Linked DNA regions of Homo sapiens: region 1 is linked to region 2. Evidence: promoter capture Hi-C in 16 types of primary human blood cells and fetal thymus (Javierre and others, 2016). All regions are on one chromosome and are shown on one strand. The core of a region is centred on a gene start or on the middle of the fragment in contact, and the rest is flanking DNA. Distances in the headings are between cores, read along the strand shown. Region 1 overlaps RABGAP1L (RAB GTPase activating protein 1 like). Region 2 holds the start of SERPINC1 (serpin family C member 1).

Evidence for each region. Contacts are between HindIII fragments. The CHiCAGO score rates a contact against its expected background, and 5 or more counts as called.
Region 1: a fragment that was not itself captured here is called in contact with the fragment with the promoter of SERPINC1 in region 2 in 1 of 17 cell types (neutrophils); the score reaches 5.4 in neutrophils.

The regions. Positions count from the first base shown.
Region 1 is chr1:174,770,093-174,774,319 of GRCh38, reverse strand. All of the region lies in intron 18 of RABGAP1L (RAB GTPase activating protein 1 like), which reads right to left. Among named protein-coding and RNA genes, the nearest start is that of RABGAP1L-AS1, 180 kb to the left of the region's middle. The HindIII fragment of the contact is 3,621 bases long and covers 35-3,655 here.
Region 2 is chr1:173,915,211-173,919,047 of GRCh38, reverse strand. It overlaps SERPINC1 (serpin family C member 1), which reads left to right and starts at 1,721. Exons shown (of 7, transcript NM_000488.4): 1 at 1,721-1,829. The coding sequence starts at 1,789. It overlaps LOC124904457 (a long non-coding RNA gene), which reads right to left and starts at 2,548. Exons shown (of 2, transcript XR_007066739.1): 1 at 2,108-2,548. The HindIII fragment of the contact is 6,307 bases long and covers 1-3,837 here.

The sequences.
Region 1 (4,227 bases), core at 596-3,095, 860 kb before region 2:
GGCTCTTGGCCATAAAAACCTTCTTAATCAAGCTTACGTATGACACAAATAAATGACTTTATTCTAAATTCATTTAGCTTTACCAAAACCAAATTCTCTTAGTCAAGGAAAAGCAATAAAAGATAAAAAAGATCAAGGCTATGGGCGTTTTAGTTATTACATTTCTAGCAAAAGGAGCATATTTCAGCCTTTTCTCAACCTGCATAAACAATATATTAAATAAAACTGTATATGCTTCAGTTACATTTCCTCTACTGGTTATATTATTCTGATAAGATCAATTGATTCCCACAGTGAGTTATCAAACTATCAACACTGTAATGGACAAAATTAGTCTATTTCATTCTAAAAAGCAATACCAGCAACTCTTACAGATAAAAAGGGTCATAAAAACATATTGGGCAGTGAATCCTCTGACAAGTCTCTTGATAATAGCTCCTTATGATCAGCTCACATACTCTGATTGGTCAGAGTGAAATGGAGTTTAACCAGAGCATTAAACAGTATTCAGGGATGACTTCATATATCTCAAAGATTATGACAGAATAAGTGGAAAGGCAGAACTCAGGAATCAAATATTATTCCAGCCAGTCAAGAGCAGAGAATATTTTAATTTCATGATGATTTTTGACAGTGAGTTCATTTTCATTAGCCTAAATTCAATTATTTGTTCATATAGCAATGGCTCTTGGTTGCTCTGGCTCTGCTTCTATCCTATTCAACCAAGGACATTTTTAAATTGGGACAACTATCTTTGAACATACAATAGAATATGCTTAATTCAAACAACTTGAATTAAAAAACCTGTTTTCACTCATAGTATGATGTCAACATAGATTTGTGGAATGGAGACTGATTTCACTATAATTTAAGGGTCTCCTGCTGTATAACGTAAAAAGGCATGGAATTTTTAGTGAGAGCCACCTGGCTTTTATTTATTTATTTGTTTATTACTTTTTAGATAACGGGTCTCACTATGTTGTTCAGATTAGTCTTGCACTCATGGGCTCAAGTGATCTTTCCACCTTAGCCTTCCAAGTAGCTAGGATTACAGGCATATGTCGCCATGCCTGGGATTTGAGTATCAAGTAGGATATAATCTCTTGTTCACAGAGCAATTGTAAGGTTTAAAATAAACACACACACACACACACACCCCATAGCTTAGAAGTTAAGAACACTGCCTCTGTAGTAAGACAGGCCTAGTTGTGATTGTGGTATGTCATTTGCCTAACTGAATGACTTTAACCAAGTTTTTTAACTTTTTATAAGTCTTAGTTTCCTAATCTGTAAAATGAGCATATTGATTCATACCAACAAGTCAATACAGTATTAACAGTAATAGAATCACTGATAAAATAGTAATACAATATTAACAGTAATAGAATTATTGTTAAAATTAGGATTTCTTTTAATTAATGTCAGTAAAAAAATTAAGGGTCATACACTATGCTAAGTGAAATATGCCAGAGATAAGACAAATACGATATAATTCCACTTACATGAGGTACCTAGAGTAGCCAAATTCATAGAGACAGAAAGCAGAATGGTGACTGCCAGGGGCTAAGGGGAGAAAGGAATGGGGAGTTACTATTTAACAGGTGCAAGAGTTTCAGTTTTGCAAGATGAAAAAAAGATCTGGAGATGGATGGTGGTGATAGTTGCACAACAATGTCAATTTACCTAATGTCACTGAACTGTGTACTTAGGAATGGTTAAAACTGTACTTTTTTTTTTTTTTTTTTTTTTTTTGAGATGGAGTCTTGCTCTGTTGCCCAGGCTGGAGTGCAGTGGTGCGATCTCAGCTCACCACAAGCTCCGCCTCCCGGGTTCAAGCGATTCTCCCATCTCAGTCTCCTGAGTAGCCAGGCACACGCCACAACACCCGCTAATTTTGTATTTTTAGTAGAAATGGGGTTTCTCCATGTTGGCCAGGGTGATCTCGAACTCCTGACCTCAGGTGATCCACCCACCTTGGCCTCCCAAAGTGCTGGGATTACAGGCCTGAGCCACTGCCCTGACCAAAATTGTACATTTTATGTTACGTATATTATACTACAATAAACAAAATTAAAGGTAGTGAAGATTAGTTATTTTTTTTTGTTTTGTTTTTTGTTTTTTTTTGAGACAGTCTGACTCTGTCGTCCAGGCTGTAGTGCAGTGGCGTGATCTCAGCTCACTGCAACCTCTGCCTCCCGGCTTCAAGCAATTCTTTGCCTCAGCCTCTCGAGTAGCTGGGATTACAGGCACCCACCACCAGGCCCGGCTAATTTTTTGTATTTTTAGTAGAGATGGGGTTTCACCATCTTGGCCAGGCTGGTCTTGAACTTCTGACCTCGTGATCCACCTGCCTCGGCCTTCCAAAGTGCTGGGATTATAGGCGTGGGCCAATGTGCCCGGCCGTGAAGATTAGTTTTAAAGTGCTTAGCACAGCATCAGATACATTTTAAGTGCTCAATAAATGATAGGTGTCTTACTATTAATTTTATTTATTAAACATTTAAAAAATGCATTTGAGAGCTCATTACAAACTGTTTAAATGCTACACAATTATATTGTTATTGATGGTAGCTGTCAGATTTTTTTTACATAGATCCAACACATTGCTTGGATATCTAGAAATACCTGATAGAATGATCACAGTGCAGAGGTGTGAGTGCTAGAAAATACACACACTAACATTTCACTAATGTAGAACAAATGGGTTGTTTATATTCAAGTATGGTTATAAAGAGATTTTTAAGTTGAAATGAAAACATTTTGGTGGTATTCATCTTGAAGTATAACAAATAAAATATTCCTTTGCTCCTAATTTTATTATATTGTTCTGTAAACACTTTTTTTTTTGTAAAAGAGGCAAAGATAAATTTAGCCAAGCACTTAAACAACAAACATGCAAATTATACAAAGATTCTTATCTACTCATTAAAGGACTGAAATGGTTATATAAGACATACAAACATACACACATATACACACACCTATAGCACAGATTGACACAGCTGGCATGACATAAATTTAGAGCATGCTTCCCTGTCTCTTTATTTTATAAGTTAGGAAATTAAGTGTTAAAAGGTTAGATGATTTGATTAAAATTCCACAATAAATTGATGGCAGAAATGTAATTAAAGCCCCTCAGAATCGTATCCTGCGCATCCCCCTCAAATGTGCCATGGCAAAGGACTTGCCTCAGCCATTCTTCCTCATTCCTCTTCTACATGCTGTTCACTCTCACCCTCATGTCCTATTCTCAGGTTAGATGCCACCTTTGGAAAATGTTTACTAGTTTCCCAGAATGAATTTGGCATTCTGCCTTTAGGCTCCCAAAGATCCCTTTTAAACCCCAGGATCAAACACACTGAATTCTTATGTCTGTGTGCCTCCCCTATTAGATGTGACAACTTCAGGACACAGAATGTCATCTCTGTATCCCCTGACATCTAACCCAGGGACTGTCAATAGTGAATATCTGTTGAATAAGTGAACTAACTAACCATCACAGGCTTCTCCAAAGAGAGACAGGAAAGATGGGATCAAGGACATAGTGAGGAAGTTAGCCTTGGAATGGGGGCAGAACAGACCTTCATTAAAGACAAGAGCAAAGCAGAAGAGGATGAAGACAGAGAGGGATTTTTAAGTAAAAGGGATGGAAGCTTAAATGAGTACTTATTTTGCTCACAAAAATAGAACAAGGAGGAAACTGGATTTTTTTGTTCTGTTTGTTCTCTGTCAAGGGAGCTTGTATTTCTTAGGGTACATTAAGTTCAATTTAATCACTGACTACTTGGAAATGGTGTGTTTATTCAACTGTCTTCCCTTCTTGATATTTTGGATTGTTTCATGAGAAATAAGTAATGAGAAATTGCTTCAACAAATTTAAGGTATTATATAATATGTGCATGGTACTGTGATGATATACATTTTTTCCTGATACAGATCCCTGTTTCATAAAATGTATTATTTCTGAAACTTTAAAACTTTAAAATTCCTTGAGTATCCTAATTAGAAGCCCAGTATTTGTGTTTGTTGGTTTGTTTTAGCATTTACTAGATAGCATCTTGAAACTAACCTATCATCAAACTGAAGATGCACTAGAGAAAGTTAAAAACAAACAAATGAAATATTCAAGTAACAAATGATCCAGGAGTGGTGTTTTACTGCCACCAACAGGACAATAGGCATTCCTTCATGAAAGTTACAAAACTAATGGAATGTACAAAATCATTG
Region 2 (3,837 bases), core at 472-2,971:
CTCTTTGGACAGCTCTTCCTAAAGATATTCATATGGCCCCCTCCATCATTTCATTCTGGTTTCCTAACAATGATTCCTAAGGGAGGCCTTTCCTACCAAGTGTTCTCAGATGGTGCCCTCCCCACTTCCTCCCACTGCTTCCTATATCCTTGCCCTGCTATAGTTTTCTCTATGGACCTTATTAACATCTGACTGGCACGTTACATATTTATTTTTTAAATACTGATTTTTTTTTTTTGAGATGGAGTCTTGCTCTGTCACCCAGGCTGGAGTGCAATAGCACGATCTCGGCTCACTGCAACCTCTGCCTCCTGGGGTCAAGTGATTCTCCTGCCTCAGCCTCCTGAGTAGCTGGAATTACAGGTGCCCACCACCATGCCCAGCTATTTTTTGTATTTTTAGTAGAGATGGGGTTTCACCAGGTTGGCTAGGCCGGTCTCGAACTCCTGACCTCAGGTGATCCACCTGCCTCAGCCTACCAAAGTGCTGGGATTACAGGTGTGAGCCACCACGCTTGGCCTAAAATACTGATTCTTTATGTGATTGCTGTATGTCTCCCCCGAATGGAATCCCAGCCCCAAGAACAGTGTCTGCTGGCACAAGCAGCACTCGTGTATTTGTTGAACTCAAGTGGTTGAACAGGAGACTTTTCAATAGTCTTTAATCTAGGGTGACAGATGAGCCTCTGGGCATTCTGGGGCCCTTTGGGACAGTTCTCGGCTACTGTTCACACTGCACATGGAGGGCTTCAAAGGATCCAGGGTCTGAATCAGCCAAGAACTTAGACACAGCTTCAGTTCAGGAGAGATGTCCTCTCTCATGAACGAAGAGCTCTCGAAAATGCCTATGACTGCAACAACAACTACAAGGAGTCCTTGATCACACAGCAGGAGGCACATGCGCCCTGTGAACTTGGTGGCTGCAGTCCTTGTGATGGTGCTTTTGGCTATTTCAGAAGAGGGAAATGTAAACAAACCTGCCCTTTATCTCCACTAGTTTGAATTTACCCAATCTCCCCAATAACTAATAAAAATAACGATACACATAAATATAATTTAGTTTGTTTTTATTTCAGCAGTTGTACGTGGGTTTTTCACCTGCCCCGCATTCTGTCTCCTGATCCCCCAGTAGAGTTTTGCTAAGTATTTCCCAGCTGCTCACACCCCTTAGAAACGCGCTTGGCATGCACCCCGAGGCCCTGCTCTTCTCTCCCTGTCCCACCACTTCAGGGCTGCTGGGGAATGGGTCTCTCTGTGGGCCACAGGTGTAACCATTGTGTTTTCCTTGTCTGTGCCAGGGACACCTTGGCACTCAGATGCCTGAAGGTAGCAGCTTGTCCCTCTTTGCCTTCTCTAATTAGATATTTCTCTCTCTCTCTCCCTCTCTCCATAAAGAAAACTATGAGAGAGGGTGGGTATGAACCAAGTTTGTTTCCTTGGTTAGTTTCCTAACCAAGTTTGAGGGTATGAACATACTCTCCTTTTCCTTTTCTATAAAGCTGAGGAGAAGAGTGAGGGAGTGTGGGCAAGAGAGGTGGCTCAGGCTTTCCCTGGGCCTGATTGAACTTTAAAACTTCTCTACTAATTAAACAACACTGGGCTCTACACTTTGCTTAACCCTGGGAACTGGTCATCAGCCTTTGACCTCAGTTCCCCCTCCTGACCAGCTCTCTGCCCCACCCTGTCCTCTGGAACCTCTGCGAGATTTAGAGGAAAGAACCAGTTTTCAGGCGGATTGCCTCAGATCACACTATCTCCACTTGCCCAGCCCTGTGGAAGATTAGCGGCCATGTATTCCAATGTGATAGGAACTGTAACCTCTGGAAAAAGGTAAGAGGGGTGAGCTTTCCCCTTGCCTGCCCCTACTGGGTTTTGTGACCTCCAAAGGACTCACAGGAATGACCTCCAACACCTTTGAGAAGACCAGGCCCTCTCCCTGGTAGTTACAGTCAAAGACCTGTTTGGAAGACGTCATTTCAAGTGCTCTCCCTCCCACCCCACCTCTTGGGGTAAGGCCTTTCCTAAGCTACCCCTTGGGTCCCTAGCCTAAGAAACAAGGGGGATGTCATCCCTGGTGTAAAGATGCTGTGCAGGAAGTCAGCACTCACGGGATCCAGGGGACGCTCCAAGGGGAATCCCCAGGGCCTGCCATCCATCCGGGAAGAGAGCAAATGCTACCCATGAGGACCTCCTCACTCCCTTTTTGCTCTTTCTTCCACTCAGATCCACCCCACTCCACCCCCACCCAAATCCCAGTGACCTTTGACTAAAGGGCCAAAACTGCTTCCTTTTCTCACAATGAGAGTTGTCCCTCCCTCAATGCCACACACACTCCCTTCTTCATCTGAGTTGTCACAGGAGGCTAGAAACGGGGTGGTGGCACAACTGTCTTGGTTTTAATTTGTGCTTCATAGCCCTCCCAGGGTCCTCTCAGCCTCAAATTGCATTTCCAAATGTAGTTGAAGGACAGAGTGGGCAACCGAAGGCAGTGGAGATGGGAAGATGAATGGCAGGGTCCTCTCCTCTCTCTCTCTGCTTCTTCAGCCTGCCTTCCACATCTCCCTTGGTGCCGCTGCTTCTCTCCGGCTTTGCACCTCTGTTCTTGAAAGGGCTGCAGAACTGGACTCAGACCACGCAAGAAGGCAAGTCCCCCTCAGCTGCCCCAGCTTCCAGCCAGCCCCAGGCTTGCCCAACGGACCACGTCCGTGAATCTGCACTGGGTGCCTGTCTTTCTCTCCCAGGAGAAGATGGGAAGATCCAGTACCCACACACAGACCCCCTTGTGTACACGCAGGAACCATAAACCAGCTGGAGGCAGCCCCTGCCCCACCCTGTCTTATCTACAAAAAATATTACAAGAGACTTTATCTCTTGATTTGCTTCATCGAGTGTCCCAACTACCTCATTTTTTTAAAATGTGAAATTAGCTTCATTTACCTTCATTGAATCCATGTTGGCGACTATTAAAAATTCCAGGCAATAAAAAGGGATGAGAGCCTGAACTAAAGCAGTGGCAATAACTGGTGAAAGAGTAAAAAAACAGAACTGATTGACTCTGGGGTGAACTGATTGACTCTGGGGTTTGACTAAATGAGGAGGAGAGAGGGAGGAATCCAGGGTGATTCTCAGGTTTCTGTACGGGATTCACTGAGCCCACTCACAGGAGCAGGCCTGTGGGGGAGAATTAATTACCAGTTCAGTTTGGTCCTGTTTCCCTGAAGAACTTGTAGGAGTTCCTGGTGGAACTGTCCAGCAAATAGTCAGTCTGGAGCTCAGTGGAAGGGTTAGGGCTGGAGCTAGAGATGTAGGAATCTTCAGCACACAGATATTGCCATTGTTTTTGTTTGTTTGTTTGTTTGTTGTTGCTGTTTTGAGACACAGTCTCACTTTGTCACCCAGGTTGGAGTGCAGTGGCACAATCTCAGCTCACTGCAACCTTCGCCTCCTGGGTTCAAGTGATTCTTCTGCCTCAGCCTCCCTAGTAGCTTGGGACTACAGGTGTGCGCCACCACACCCAGCTAATTTTTGTATTTTTAGTAGAGACAGGGTTTCACCATGTTGTCCAGGCTGATCTCGAACACCCAACCTCAAGTGATCTGCATGCCTCAGCCTCCCAAAGTGCTGGGATTACAGGCGTGAGCCACCGCACCCGGCCAGATATTGCCTTTGCTCCATCCATTTCTTCTTACTTCTCTTGTGTTGCTGAAATCTCTCTGCTGCATCTATCAGAGTCCTTCCCCAAACAGTTTCTGTAGATGGCTCCCCCTACCACCCTGACTCTTCACTGGGCACTAAAGCCGATTTTTTAGGCATGCACATTCCATGTCACAAACAGGAA